Regions from separate parts of the Homo sapiens genome. Here region 1 is linked to region 2. The links are contacts of gene promoters, found by promoter capture Hi-C in blood cells and fetal thymus (Javierre and others, 2016). All regions are on one chromosome and are shown on one strand. Each heading gives the region's core, a stretch centred on a gene start or on the middle of the fragment in contact. The rest is flanking DNA. Distances are from core to core; before and after follow the strand shown.

Region 1 (6,309 bases), core at 260-2,759, 960 kb after region 2:
AGTAGAATTTTTTTATACTTTATCTTATCGTTAGCTACAGGCTTTATTTGGGCAAGCAAGATAAACACAACCTCTGGGCCTTGCTTTTTGTGTCTGTTAAATGAGGGTATAGTAAAATCAACTTTACTTCCAGCCAGTGATTTTTGTAGGGAACTGCTGTGATAATGTCTGTAGAAATGCTTTGGAGAAATTTGGAGTGATATATAACTGTAATTTTAATATTATAAGATAGGACTTAACAGCTATAGTAGTTTAAGCAACACATGTTCAGCATTATGACATGTCCTGTCAGTAATGTTAATAAGTAATAGAGTTGGCTAAATTTATAGTCCTTATCAGTATTTAAACCTTTCAAGCTGTCTGAGCAGATAAAAGGGAGTTATCTTTTCACGTTACATAATTAGTGCCTTCCTTATCTCCAGGACTGAAAAATAATGTGGTTTTTTTTTGCAGCTATATTAAACAGGTGATGACACAACTTGAAACTGGATTGTAGCCTTGCTGATCACTAAAAGGTAGATTTGCTGATAGGAAAGTCAGTGTAAATGGGTTACATTGCTTTAATCCAAAATGTAGTACTGAATTTGAGACGGAAAAACATTTTTTAAGAATGAGGATGGGTCTTGGAGTAAGCTTCTGTTAATACTGTGTGAAGAACAGACAATGCATACAGTTGATACAGAAAGGTGGCTTGTCACATGCCGTTCTTCAGCTAGTTTGTAAGATACCATGAGTACTGTTATTATCAAAGTGGGAAGATGACATGTGTCCCCATGAATAGGCAATAGGTGAATATTAATAGTACTTAAATTAGAAGGTATTTAAAGTACATTAGGATCTTCAGTCTCTTAGATAAGTCATACGAAGCACATAATGAAATTTCCATCCCATTTTGCATTTGAAACTGTTACCAGTGATGGTTTAGACCAGAACCGTCCAGTAGAAATATAAGCCACACAGTAGCCACGTTAAAACATAAAAAAGTTGAGATTAATTTTAATAATTGATTTTATTTAATCTGGTATACCTAGAATATTATTTTGACATATAATCAATATAAAAGTTTTTGATGAGATAGATATTTTATGCTCTTTTTTGAATTAAGGCTTTAGAATCCGATATGTATTTTGCATTCATGGTGTATCTCAATTCAGACTAGCCATATTTCAAGTGCTCAGTAGCCACATTTGGCTAGTTGACTACCCTGTTGGGTAGTGCAAGTCTGGACCGCTCTGAGTTATGGAGTTATATTATTGGTTTAATGAGACCTAATGACAGTCAAGCATTACAATGCCTGTAATGTGCCATGTATAGTGTTCTCTATAATATTTTCAGAAGATCTTTGTAATAACTCTATGATGTCAGTTTTGTTATCATTTTAGACATAGACAGTGAGGTATGGAGATATTAATTTGTCTAAGATTAAACAGGTAGTCTGTAGAGGAGCAGGATTTAAAGCTAAATCTGACCCTAAAACCGCTGTCCTGTTTTTTGTTTCTGTTGCACTGTTTTAAAGCACTGCCACTAGCGTTTGGGCAGGTAGGTGGGTGAGGTGTAGTTTTGGCACTGCTCAGCCAGTGACTTGTGATTTAATTTTTCCTTATTTTTAGGCACAAAGGACTTCTTAGCTTAGAGTGGAAGTGGTATCTTCTAAGTCCTTGCTCATATTCCTGATTGGGAATGTTCCTTTATACTTGTTCCTCATTTCCCATTCATTAAACTGCTTTCTACAATTCTTTAAACATGTAGAATGGAGAGATGGCTCTTTGAGTCTGTTACAGGACCGTGGCGGCAGATAAGGGAAAGCTCAGCTCCTATTGGCAAAAGTGAAAACTAATGTCTAGTAAAACTTTTGTCTGGATGAAGAAGTTTTCTAAGGGTTTCAGTACTTCATTCTGAGAAAGAATTGAGAAGTTCTTATTCATCATGCTCTTTGAATTGTAAATATTTTTTCAGTTATTTTACAGGATTTTATATTGTGGATTAATACTTAGCAGCATGTTCTATTTAATTTGAATAATTTCTTTGAATTACATTTGGATTCCTAGAGAATATTTTCTCACAAACTTTTTCATTTCAAAAGGAAAAACAGGCAGTCCCTAATTTTTGAATACGTTGTCTTCCAGATTGTGTGTAAAACAGTTGTTTGAACTTGGAGCATGTTTTACTACACTGGTTTTAAGTTCCTGGGCTAGCCCACAGAAGCCTATTTAAAACCACATCCTATTTTAGCACTAATATACTGTTGGTTTAAGTTTAGGGAATCAGAGCATTGGATCGTGTTCTGTGGGAGTTGGAGGAGAAAGTAAGTTTATTTTTGGCTTTTAGTGTTTTCTCTTATACTTTTTCATCTCTTTAATTTCTGTTTTCCAACTTATACTGGCCTAAGCTTTCTGCTCTTTTACTATAATCTTGGCTCAATAACTTTAAAAGATTCAATAACTTCTAAGTGCTCAATAACTTCAAAATTTTCTGTATGGAATAGGTTTACTTGTTGAGTGCTTGGCAAATAAACGTTTTATGCTCATTCGTATCTCATTTAGTTTTAAGAGTTTTATGAGGTAGGGGCTAGTTTTCCATCATTAATGAGGAATCTGAGGATTAGGTTAATCACTTTGTCCAAGTTTATAGGGCAGGGAGAGGAGTTATGGAGTTAACGTTGTTGGGTAAAAACCTTAGCAACATGACTTGAAAGCTCATCCACTAACCATTGGACATACTGTTTTCCTTTTTCACATATCCTCTTCTCCTTTCTCTCTTTACTAAGTTCCAACTCCCCCTATTCCCTCAATTCAGATACTTTTTTTTTCTTTTTGAAAGAGATGTGTCTTGCTCTGTTGCCCAGGCTAGCCTCAAGTAATTACTCGGGCCTTGGGCTCAAGTAATCCTCCCACCTCAGTTTCCTGAGCAGCTGGTCTACAGGCACACACCACCAAGTCTGGCAGTCATCTACTTTAAACTAAATGTTAGGGTAAGCCATTTGATTGAATGAATTCATAATATAATGTTGTAGAGCTCTGTTCATAAAAATTGTATGATTTTATGATAAAATTTGGTAATGTGATTATCTTTAGTGAGGATTGAGCCAATATGGAATCAGAGTTTAGCCCTGCCTCTCTAAATTGTTCTTTATCCTTAAATGTGTAGTAGCTGGATTGCCTACAATTCTACAATTTTCTGTTAGAATTTATGGCAGTAGTTTTCAACTGTGGACTGAGAACATTTTGGGAACTGTGCCCATTATAAAGTTTGTCTGAAGACCTAATAAATAATTTGCCTTTCATACTGTGCTATTATTTTTCAATGGTATTTCAATACTGCTGTGATTAAAATATAAAATATTATATGCATGGTAGAATTTGGTCATATTTTCTTAATATAAGTGGATATCAAAAGTACTGTTATGGGGAATCTGAATATCTTGATATAAATGAAGTCCTTTTGCTTTAAGAGTGGAGAATCATTACTTAAAGAATGTTACAAGGAAATTATATATAAATTTTATATATAATATATATAGCATTTATTTTCAAGACATTCATACTTAATGTCACAGAATCAGTTGTAGTGTTGAAATGACTGACTGACTTACCAGCTGGTAACCCCTTAATCTCAGAGGTGATTGTACAAGATCTTGATTAACTCAGATTCTATTAATATCTTTGATTGGTAAAACATTTTTGGCAGTAAGTGAAAAATTCAGGCATTATAAAAGACTTGGGGAGCCTTGCCTTGGAGTTTTCTATCTCTCTAAGAACTGTCATTTTATCCCAGTAGCTCTATGGTAGAGACAGATGAAGGTTGGAGTAGCAGTATATTGTGTTATTTTATAAACGTGCTATTTTTTATTTCATGCTGAGATTGGGAAAAGATAACTTATTAATCTATCTAAGATATATTAGGTTATCTCTCTCCATGCTGCTGGGCATAGTTACAAAACATCCTATTTTACAATGAGGAACTAGAGTCCCACAGAGGGTAACTTGCCTGAGATTCTAAGTCATAAACTTTGGAGCTAGTATTTCTTGCCTCAAGAGATTTTTTTTTTCTTTTACATTTTGCCCGTTGCTTTTTATTGTGAAGAGATACTTATTCATCTAAATGATATAACTTGCGGAGCAAGCATTACTTAAAACAAAATTTGTATTTTACTTAAATTTTAACAACTTAAATTCTTTAATTTTTAAAAAATTGTACAAGGTTGAACTTAATACAAAATAGCTATAAATTATATTAATGCCATCTTATCCAAGAATGAAAAAGGATAAAAATATTACTCATTTACTTTGAAAATATTCAGTACCTTTTAAAAAATTCTAATATTTGGGTTAGGAAATGAGAAACTAGGATGATTTAGGAGAGTCTTTTCCTGAGTTTTGTTTTGGGCAGAATATCAGTCCAAATGCATTTAAAAAAATAGGAGTATACTATGCTGCAAGGTTGGTTTAGATTGCTTTTTTTTTTTTTTTTTTTCGACACCTGTTTTCTTTAAAATTCCTTTTGGCTAATAAATTATTTAAGGGTTAAAATAATAAAAGACACTGGTATTACATCAGTAAGTGTGTAGTGATGAAGAACCATAGTACAAACACAGGAGTTAAGTAAGTAAAAATATATAAGCATAGTGTATGGGTTTTGATGTTTAAAATGCAAGATTAAATAGGCTATAGTAGTATGTTGGGAAATTTGGGGAAAAAAACAACTTAAAGTGGCAAGTCAAAATTCTGCTAAGACCATATGCTAGCTAGAACAGACATGATATGAATATAAATAAGTTACTTATGCTTTAATTTGCAAGGACTTTTACATATGTTCTTACACAATCAGCTTTACCAATTTATTACAGGGTTGTTGCCATACTTTTATTTTTCCTAATCCTTGTTCTGCAGGAAGGGAGGATACACTGAATGAATAAAAGCAGATAAACTTAAAATCAATGGTTTTGCCATATAAGATCATCTTAGGATTTAAAAGGGTTTTAGAAGCCATTAGCTACTTTAGGCAATATTAGCTACTTTAGCTACTTCAGGGGTTTGAGGGAGATAATGTTTTAGTTGGGCTCTTTTGGTTATAAGGATAGTTTTAAGAAAGTGAGTGTTTACTATGAGGATATGTGTAGACTTCAACTGTAGAGACTTTAACAATTCAATTCAAGGGATTCCAGGTCTGTGCTTGTGTGTGTGCCTCTGTCTCTCAGTACTGTGCTAAGTTTTTCTTGGGTTGTTTCACTTAATTCTTAAAATTGAGGCCTAGGGAGGTTAAGAAACTCATCCAAAGTCAGTAAGTGGCAGAACCAGATTTGAGTGCAGATAATCTGACTCCCACTATGGGATCTTTGTCCCTGTACTGTACTATCTGCACAATTTTGTATTTCATGTATTTGTTTTTTAAATTTCCTTTGGAATTATTCCCACTTCCCCCCTTTAAAAAAAAAAATCTCACATTCTACTAGACTAGGAGTTCTTAAACAGTGGTCCATCAATCTTAAGGAAGAGATAAATGGACTCCAGGTAAGCAGTAGCTCCTTGAAATTATATGTACATTTTTGAATATGTATGCATTTTTGCAGGGTGAGGGTTCATAAATTTTATTAAATTCTCAAAAGGATCTCTGTCCTTCAAAGTAGTAAGAGTCACTGTACTATCAGCAGCTCTAGGGAAGGTTCTGAGTTCTTATCTTTGTATTCCCTAGCACCTGGTTTTTGGTTACTCAATAAATATTTGTTGAACAGACCTTAACAAATAGAGATGGTATGTAGGAAAATAAGTTTGAATTTAGTCCTAATCTGGAATTTGAAGATGCTTTCACTGTTTATTTAAAATGGTGTTAAGGATCAATCTTACTGACTTGGTCCAGAAAACTGTTTTCTGGCAGATTCAAATTTTATGAATCAAGTTTTTTGAAGTTAGGTTTTTGAAATCAGAGAATAAAGCAAAATTCAGCATTTAGAGTCTACAGTAGGGTGTCTAAAAAAGGCCAGTTTTTTTTCCCCCTCCAGTATAGTATAAAGACTCTTTTAATATTGGATAAAGGATTAGGGAACATTATACATTTTAAACATTAAAATCATACTGCAGGGTTGAAGTACACTATATAAGCTACATGGAAACTGAGAGCAGCTGAAGGCGGGGAGAGATAGCCTAGTAAACTTTAGGCAGAATAAATTAAACAGTTTATTTGAGCAAAGGATGATTTATGAATTGGGCAATACTTAGAACCGGAAGGGATCCAGAGAACTCCTCTCCAAAGCAGTGATGGGCAGTGAGCTTTTATAGGCTGAATGTGGAAGTAAGACAAAACATAAGTGGA
Region 2 (6,832 bases), core at 3,380-5,879:
GGTGGGTGCCTATAATCCCAGCTACTCGGGAGGCTGAGGTAGGAGAATCGCTTGAACCAGGGAGGCAGAGGCTGCAGCGAGCCGAAATCGTGCCACTGCACTCCAGCCTGGGCAACAGAGCAAGACTCCATCAAAAGAAAAGAAAAGAAGAAAAGAAAAGAAAAGAAAGAAGGAAGGAAGGAAGAAAAGGAAAGGAAAGAAAAGAAAAGAAAGGAAAGGAAACCAAAGGAAAGAAAAGAAAAGAAGAAAGGAAGGAAGGAAGGAAGAAAGAAAGAGAAAGAAAGAAAGTTAGTTTATGAATTTGTGTTGGGCCGCATTCAAAGCCATCCTGGACTGCATGTGGCCCGCAGGCCACAGGTTGGACAAGCTTGTTCCAAACAGATTGAGTAGCTGGCACATCATTTCTCCAACTAATACAATTAAAGTCCATATGGGTACAGGTGGACCAGATGTGACACCAATATCTCATACGGAACTGTTCCCTACAGGGTTTGCCTTCCTCCCATGCCCATATTCAGTTTAGCTCTGCTGATTTTGTACAGTGAAGGGTACAACATAAATAGACCTCTGTGCCCACATCTAGGATAAAACCTCTCGGCTTAGGAGGGTAATAAGAGTATCATATAAAACCTAAAAGCTGTGGAGGTCTGAAAGACTTGGTTTCAAACCCCAGCTCCCACAATTACAGGCTATGTTGATGTGCAAACTACTGAACCACTTTGAGCTTTAGCTGTCATTTTTAACATAAAACTGGTGATAGAGCTAAAAAAAACAAATGAAATAACATTTGGTGTGTAATGTGCCTGGAACAAAGAATATATTCTATAATACTAATTCCTTTCCCTTCTATTTATAACTGATACATTTTTTAAAACTCCTAATAATAATACATAATTGAGCTTCTGAAACTGTGGTGAATTGGGAGCTTCAAATACTACAAAAAGAATAGCTATCTAGTACTATTAAACGGGGTGGCCTTGGTGAAAATTTTAACTTCACATTGAAAAAGGGATATCATCTGTCTCTAGGACTTATGGGAGAAAAAAAAAAAAGGATACCTAACTTCATCAGATTACCCCTATCTGGGGGAACGGAAACACTACATAAATACAAAGAATACCTTTAAAAGCTTATCGGTAAACGCTAATCACCAGCATGTGAAACCAAGTAAAGTGAAACTACTCTAAGGAAGAGATAGACCATCAACACATTTCTTTCAAACAGTTCTCTTTTCTCAAAGCTCTCAGGAACCCAATCCTATCTGTTCACTATCTTGGTTTGGAATATCCAGCGGGGACTGACCTTTCTTCATGCTGGAAAACAAGGAATCAGAAACATCCAACTTCTTTCTCTTTTCAATATTTTTAATTTAAAAAATATGATTACTTTGAATGATTTTTAGAAGGCTCTAGTTATAAATGCTCATAATTTCTCAAGATTTCAAGTTCATCTCATGTCATGAAATTTTAAGTGTATTGAAGGAACGTGTAAAACATCTTGGGCATTTTATTCTCCAACTTCTTGCTAATAATACTTTTTAAACATCAGTTCTCAAGTTAAGTCATTTTCTACTATGCTAAATTTCAGCAACCCAAGGTTGAGGAAACTCTCCAGTAATGAAACAAAGGGAAGAAAAGTATGACCTTCTAAAATTCTCCACAGGCATTGAGTCAGCATATTTTAATCACTGATCCTTCCCCAAACAGGTATTATTCTCTCTTAAAGGAAAGAGAAGGAACCAAGATAAGGGCCCTACTCGAAGTTTTTCAGTAACAGGGTCAAGACAGGAAAAGAAAGCTCCCTGTCAAGGTCTATCCTTTGTCTAAAGGCCCTGCTTGCTTCTTTAATCAGGATTCACTGCTAAGGCCTCAAATAAATACCATCCATAAGAGAGGTAAAAAAAGACTCCCTTTTTACTTGAAATTTGCTAAGAGAGTAGATCTTAAGTATTCTCACAATATACACATGAAAGAAAGAAGGAAGGAAGGAAGATAACTATGTAAGGTGATGGATATACTAAGTAGCTTGATTGTGGTGATTATTTCACAATTTACATATACATCAAAACATCAAGTTGTACATCTTAAATATATATAGTTTTATTTGTCAATTATATCTCAGTAAGGCTAAAAAAACTTTTCAGAATTGTTTTAAATTTTTTAAACGCACGCATAAACTTTTTGTTTTGCTTTCTAAAGAAAACTATATAAATGTTCTAATGAGCAAAGTAGTTGGAGAACATGGGAATGTTTTAAATGGCAACACGAAAGTTTTCTCCTGAAGTTTTTAAGAAAATAGTAAACCGGGTAATTGTGTAGTCGTATTGTAAGCACACTGATATCATATACACTCCAGTACCCAAAAAAATGTGCAAAGATAAAATTTAAATTCTGGAACTTATGTTTACTGTACGTGTAAATAAGTTATGAAGCATTAAATATACCATTTTCAGAATATTTACTCAGAAATGAGGAGCCCACCTAGGAACGTAACAGTGCCTGGGCATGTTTCACAGCACCAAATGTTGTATAGGTCAGTTTCAAGGCATAGTCCTCATGCTCACCCATGCCAGCTGGGGTTCAAGCAGAACTAATCAATTTACACATTGAGGACCACTTTACAGAACCCAAGTCAGAGACAGTGAAGATCTTATACACACATTCTTACACACAGGGCAGCCAGTTCTGTTTACGTAAAAACCTGGCTCATTCAACTTAAAACTAGAGTAGCAGATTTTTTTAAATGGAGTCAATAAATAGACTTTAGAAAATTCAACTGAACCCACTCAGGTTATACGCAAAATTATATGTACATATATATTTTTCTGGAGAGTAAGTACACAGCTTTCATCAAATTTCCATGGATAAGTTAATAAAAAAAAAAAGCAAAGAATCATGGCACTTGAATCAGTCACCATTCTTTGAGGTGGGGGAGTCTAAAAACAACTGAAACTGCCTAAATATTACCTACCTTCAGTATTACAGCTAGAATCCACCCCATTTTCACATATATAAAAAACATATATCTGTATATATTATACATAAATTATAATTTTCATACACATTTTTAATAAGTTATATGAATGCAAACTCAATCTGAGAGTACAAGGGCAGATATTTTGGTTTCGACTCTATCATCTACCCAACATAACTGCATATATAATTTGCTAATCTATAGAAAGGGGAATAATAACACCATAGCAGCAACTGCAAATTTGTGAGAAATGCCATTGTAAAAAGGGGAGGAAAAAAATAAGGTGAAACTATCTGACCAGTTTTTGCTAATAAATTAGCATACTAAATAAGTATGTATAAATCAACATACTTGCTACAGCAATTACGAACTCAGGAAGCCCTGTCTCTTGAGTGTTTACTGAAAGCTCAATAAGATGTACATGGTCACCTTCAGGCAATATAAGGAAAGTAGGGGGCTGGTTAGGGAACGGGGGGGGGTGGATCAAAATGAAATCTACACCAATTTTACATTTCTATTCTCTGTATTTTATATACGTGTCCTTCATTCACATCAGACCTCACGCTTCTGAAAATTGAAGAGTCTAAAACAGGTCAAAGTACTGACTCTGAAACCCCTAGGATTCAAATATATTTATTTGTCATAATTAAGCAGTAATATTATTTTGTATGCATATTCCATGCCTTTTACATCTATTATTTCCTTCTCATCTACTTATACTTATTGCTTCTACTAGTAAAAATCAGTTGAATCAGCTCTTGAATCTTATTTCAGAGGCAAGATGTACATGAAGTGCTAAGAGTGTTTACCATTTTCCCCTTAAGTCTCTTCTTGCTAGTGTTAGGCATATTTCTTGCCTTTCCTGCCCAATATTCATTTATTACTTTAGTCATTAAATATGTATTGGGGGACTATGAAGACGGGGTAGGACTCTAAATGTGACTCTCGGGCCTTAACCTTAAGAGGCCACACAACAGTGTTCAGTAATAGAACTAGGTTGTTTTGCAAAGTTTTGCTCTTCTGGCTGCAGCGTCACTAATTAAAACAATGAAGACATAGTTTGGTTAACTTCTCATTTATGGCATCAATCCATGCACGAGGCAAAAGGGCAAACCCTTCGGTTTGGGTCACAGCCCTGCAAAGAGCATCTACCCAGTTCGCCAATCTATCAGCAGCGCAGGCCGGTGGGCGGGGCTTGTGGAAGCCCAGGGAAGGAAAGGAACGGTGGGAGGAGATCTGGGAATGCCGAGTCGAGCCTGCGACTAGAAGTGACACAGAGACGGGAAACCCAAGCCACTGCCGACTGGGGAATATACCCCCTTTACTTCCTCCTCAAGGGGCTCGGGGGGCGGGGCGGAGGTACCTAGTTTCTGCCCCAGGTAGGTGAGGCTGTGATAGACCTTCTCGGCCGCGGCCAGGTGCGCCAAGGCCGCCAGCAGCGACAGCCAGCTGCCCCCCGCGCTCTTGTTGGCCTCTCGTTCCTTCTCCACATTGTCCTTAGCCTTGTCGTAAGAGAAGATACCCAGGTGAGAGAAGAACGTCTCCAGCACCGCCTGTTCCACCGGGACCGGGGCGGCCAGCGGGATAGACTCCCCCATGCGAGCTGCGCCCCAGCTCGACCCACGTGGCTCTCCTCGGCCTCGCACTTCCGGGTTCTGAGGGAACGGGCTTGCGCACAAGCGTGCGTGCGCGTGACCGCCTCCACCGGCGGACTCGTGAGCGCGCCGCTGCCGGGACCGCTCCTGGGCCTTAGAGAAGACGCGGATAAGGGCCAAGGAAAGAGGGAGGTAGCGGTTGCTGAGCTCCTTCGGCGCTTCGGCTCCTGTAGCTCTGACTATTCGGACCGTCAAGGTAGAATAGGAGGCGGCCAGTTCCCCGCTCTAAGAAGTTGCCTGCGCTCTGAGGTGAGCTGACAGGCCCCTCTCTGTGTGGTTCGTCAGCGCTGGTGACGTCATGCAAACGTGACGTCAGCCCTGGCCAGAACATCTGGCCTGGGCTCTCCAGGCACCTCGCTGGGCCGGCTGGGAGATGGGGAAGTGCCTGGAGTTGTGCCCACACTCACAGCAGGGACCCTAGTCAGCCCTGACACCTTCTACACCAACTCATGGAAGTGATTTGCTGAGATTAGAAGACTGACGGGTAAAGGTTGATCTCCTTCCCATTGCCTAGTTTTCATCACATCACACACCACCGGTTAACTCTCACCTGTATCCCGTTCTAGTTCTCCCGGGTCTGTGTTAGCCCTGCAACTAATAAGTAGAGCCCCTGGCCCAAACTGCATTAACCTTCCTTAAAAAGTTATCTTTTTTTTTTCTTTTTTTTTGAGACGGAGTCTCGCTCTGTCGCCCAGACTGGAGTGCAGTGGTGAGATCTCGGCCCACTGCAGCCTCCACCTCCCGAGTTCAAACGATTTTCCTGCCTCAACCTCCCTAGTAGCTGGGATTACAGGCCAGCGCCACCACACCTGGCTAATTTTCGTATTTTTAATAGAAACAGGGTTTCACCATGTTAGCCAGGCTGGTCTCAAACTCCTGGCTCAAGCAATCTTCCCACCTCAGCCTCCCAAAGTTTTGGGATTACAGGTGTGAGCCACCACCCCTGGCCAGAATGAAGAATACATTAATGTAAATTGTGCACGTTGTCATTTAGAATAATTACAAGTTCCTTTGGCATTTAAGAAACCCCATGAACCCGGCTCATACTTGTATGTCCACTACTTTGAAACACTACCCACTACTCAATAGTTTTTTCCTTTCTTCTTTGTGCATACTTATTTTATGCTTCTTAGTCACACTATTTAATCGCATATATTTACATATCTCTTTCCCCAAGTGGTGAGATCCCTAGGGTACAGTAGGGTTCACTTACAGTTATAATCTTTTCATATTGGACGGCGCAGCCATGTTTGTTGAACAAATGAGAGAATTGCCTATTTTCGTTTTTTCTCAAACTAGAGCTGTTCTGCCATCATCACTACCTTTTAAAGGAAATCCCACTAATCTAATTTTAATGAATAGGTATTGTGCACCTGTTCCCTATACTCAAGAATGTAATTGGATAAGATCAACCCTGTTAACAATGATACAAGGCAGTTTTTTTTTTTTTTGGTTGTTTTATTTTGTTTTGTTTTTGGACAGGGTCTCACTCTTTCCCCCAGGCTGGAGTTTTCCCCAGGCTGGAGTGCAGTGGCATGACCTCGGCTCACCGCAACCTCCGCTTTCCAGGCTTTAGTGATTCTCCTGCCTCAGCCTCTGGAGTAGCTGGGATTACAGGCCAGTGCCACCACACCTGGCTAATTTTCGTATTTTTAACAGAATTGGGGTTTACACCATGTTGGCCAGGCTGGTCTTAAAATCCTGACTTCAAATGGTCTGCCCGCCTCGGACTCCCAAAGTGCTGGGATTACAGGCATGAGCCACTGCGCCCAGCTTCAAGGAAGATTTTTTTTTTTTTTTTTTTTTTGAGACAGAGTTTTGGTCTTGTTGCCCAGGCTGGAGTGCAGTGGAGCCATCTCAGCTCACTGCAACCTCCACCTGCCGGATTCAAGTGATTTTCCTGCCTAAGGCCAGCCTCCAGAGTAGCTAGGATTACAGGCATGTGCCACCACGCCCTGCTAATTTTGTATTTTTAGCAGAGACGGGGTTTCTGCATGTTGGTCAGGCAGGTCTGGAACTCCCGACCTCAGGTGATCCTCCCGCCTCAGCCTCCCAAAGTACTGGGATTGCAGGCGTGAGCCACCGCGCCTGGCCAAGGCAGATTTTTAAACATGACAAAGGTGAAAGACAGAGAGTGAAGGGAGCAATCATACCATTTTGGAAGAATTAAGGAGGCTTCCTGGAGGAGAGTGTGATGATTCTTG

Evidence for each region. The method cuts DNA at HindIII sites, captures the fragments that hold promoters and counts their contacts. A CHiCAGO score of 5 or more calls a contact.
Region 1: a contact is called between a fragment that was not itself captured here and the fragment with the promoter of KICS2 in region 2, in 1 of 17 cell types (naive CD8 T cells). The highest score is 5.4, in naive CD8 T cells.

Annotation. Positions count from the first base shown.
Region 1 is chr12:65,182,178-65,188,486 of GRCh38, forward strand. The region is part of intron 1 of LEMD3 (LEM domain containing 3); the gene reads left to right. Among named protein-coding and RNA genes, the nearest start is that of LEMD3, 16 kb to the left of the region's middle. The HindIII fragment of the contact is 1,756 bases long and covers 632-2,387 here.
Region 2 is chr12:64,217,667-64,224,498 of GRCh38, forward strand. It overlaps KICS2 (KICSTOR subunit 2), which reads right to left and starts at 4,630. Exons shown (of 3, transcript NM_152440.5): 1 at 4,337-4,630. The coding sequence starts at 4,571. It overlaps LOC124902952 (a long non-coding RNA gene), which reads left to right and starts at 4,683. Exons shown (of 2, transcript XR_007063347.1): 1 at 4,683-4,877. RefSeq lists enhancers at 4,154-4,273, 4,344-4,403, 4,438-5,032, 4,514-4,603, 4,754-4,943 and 1 more. The HindIII fragment of the contact is 7,597 bases long and covers 1,128-6,832 here.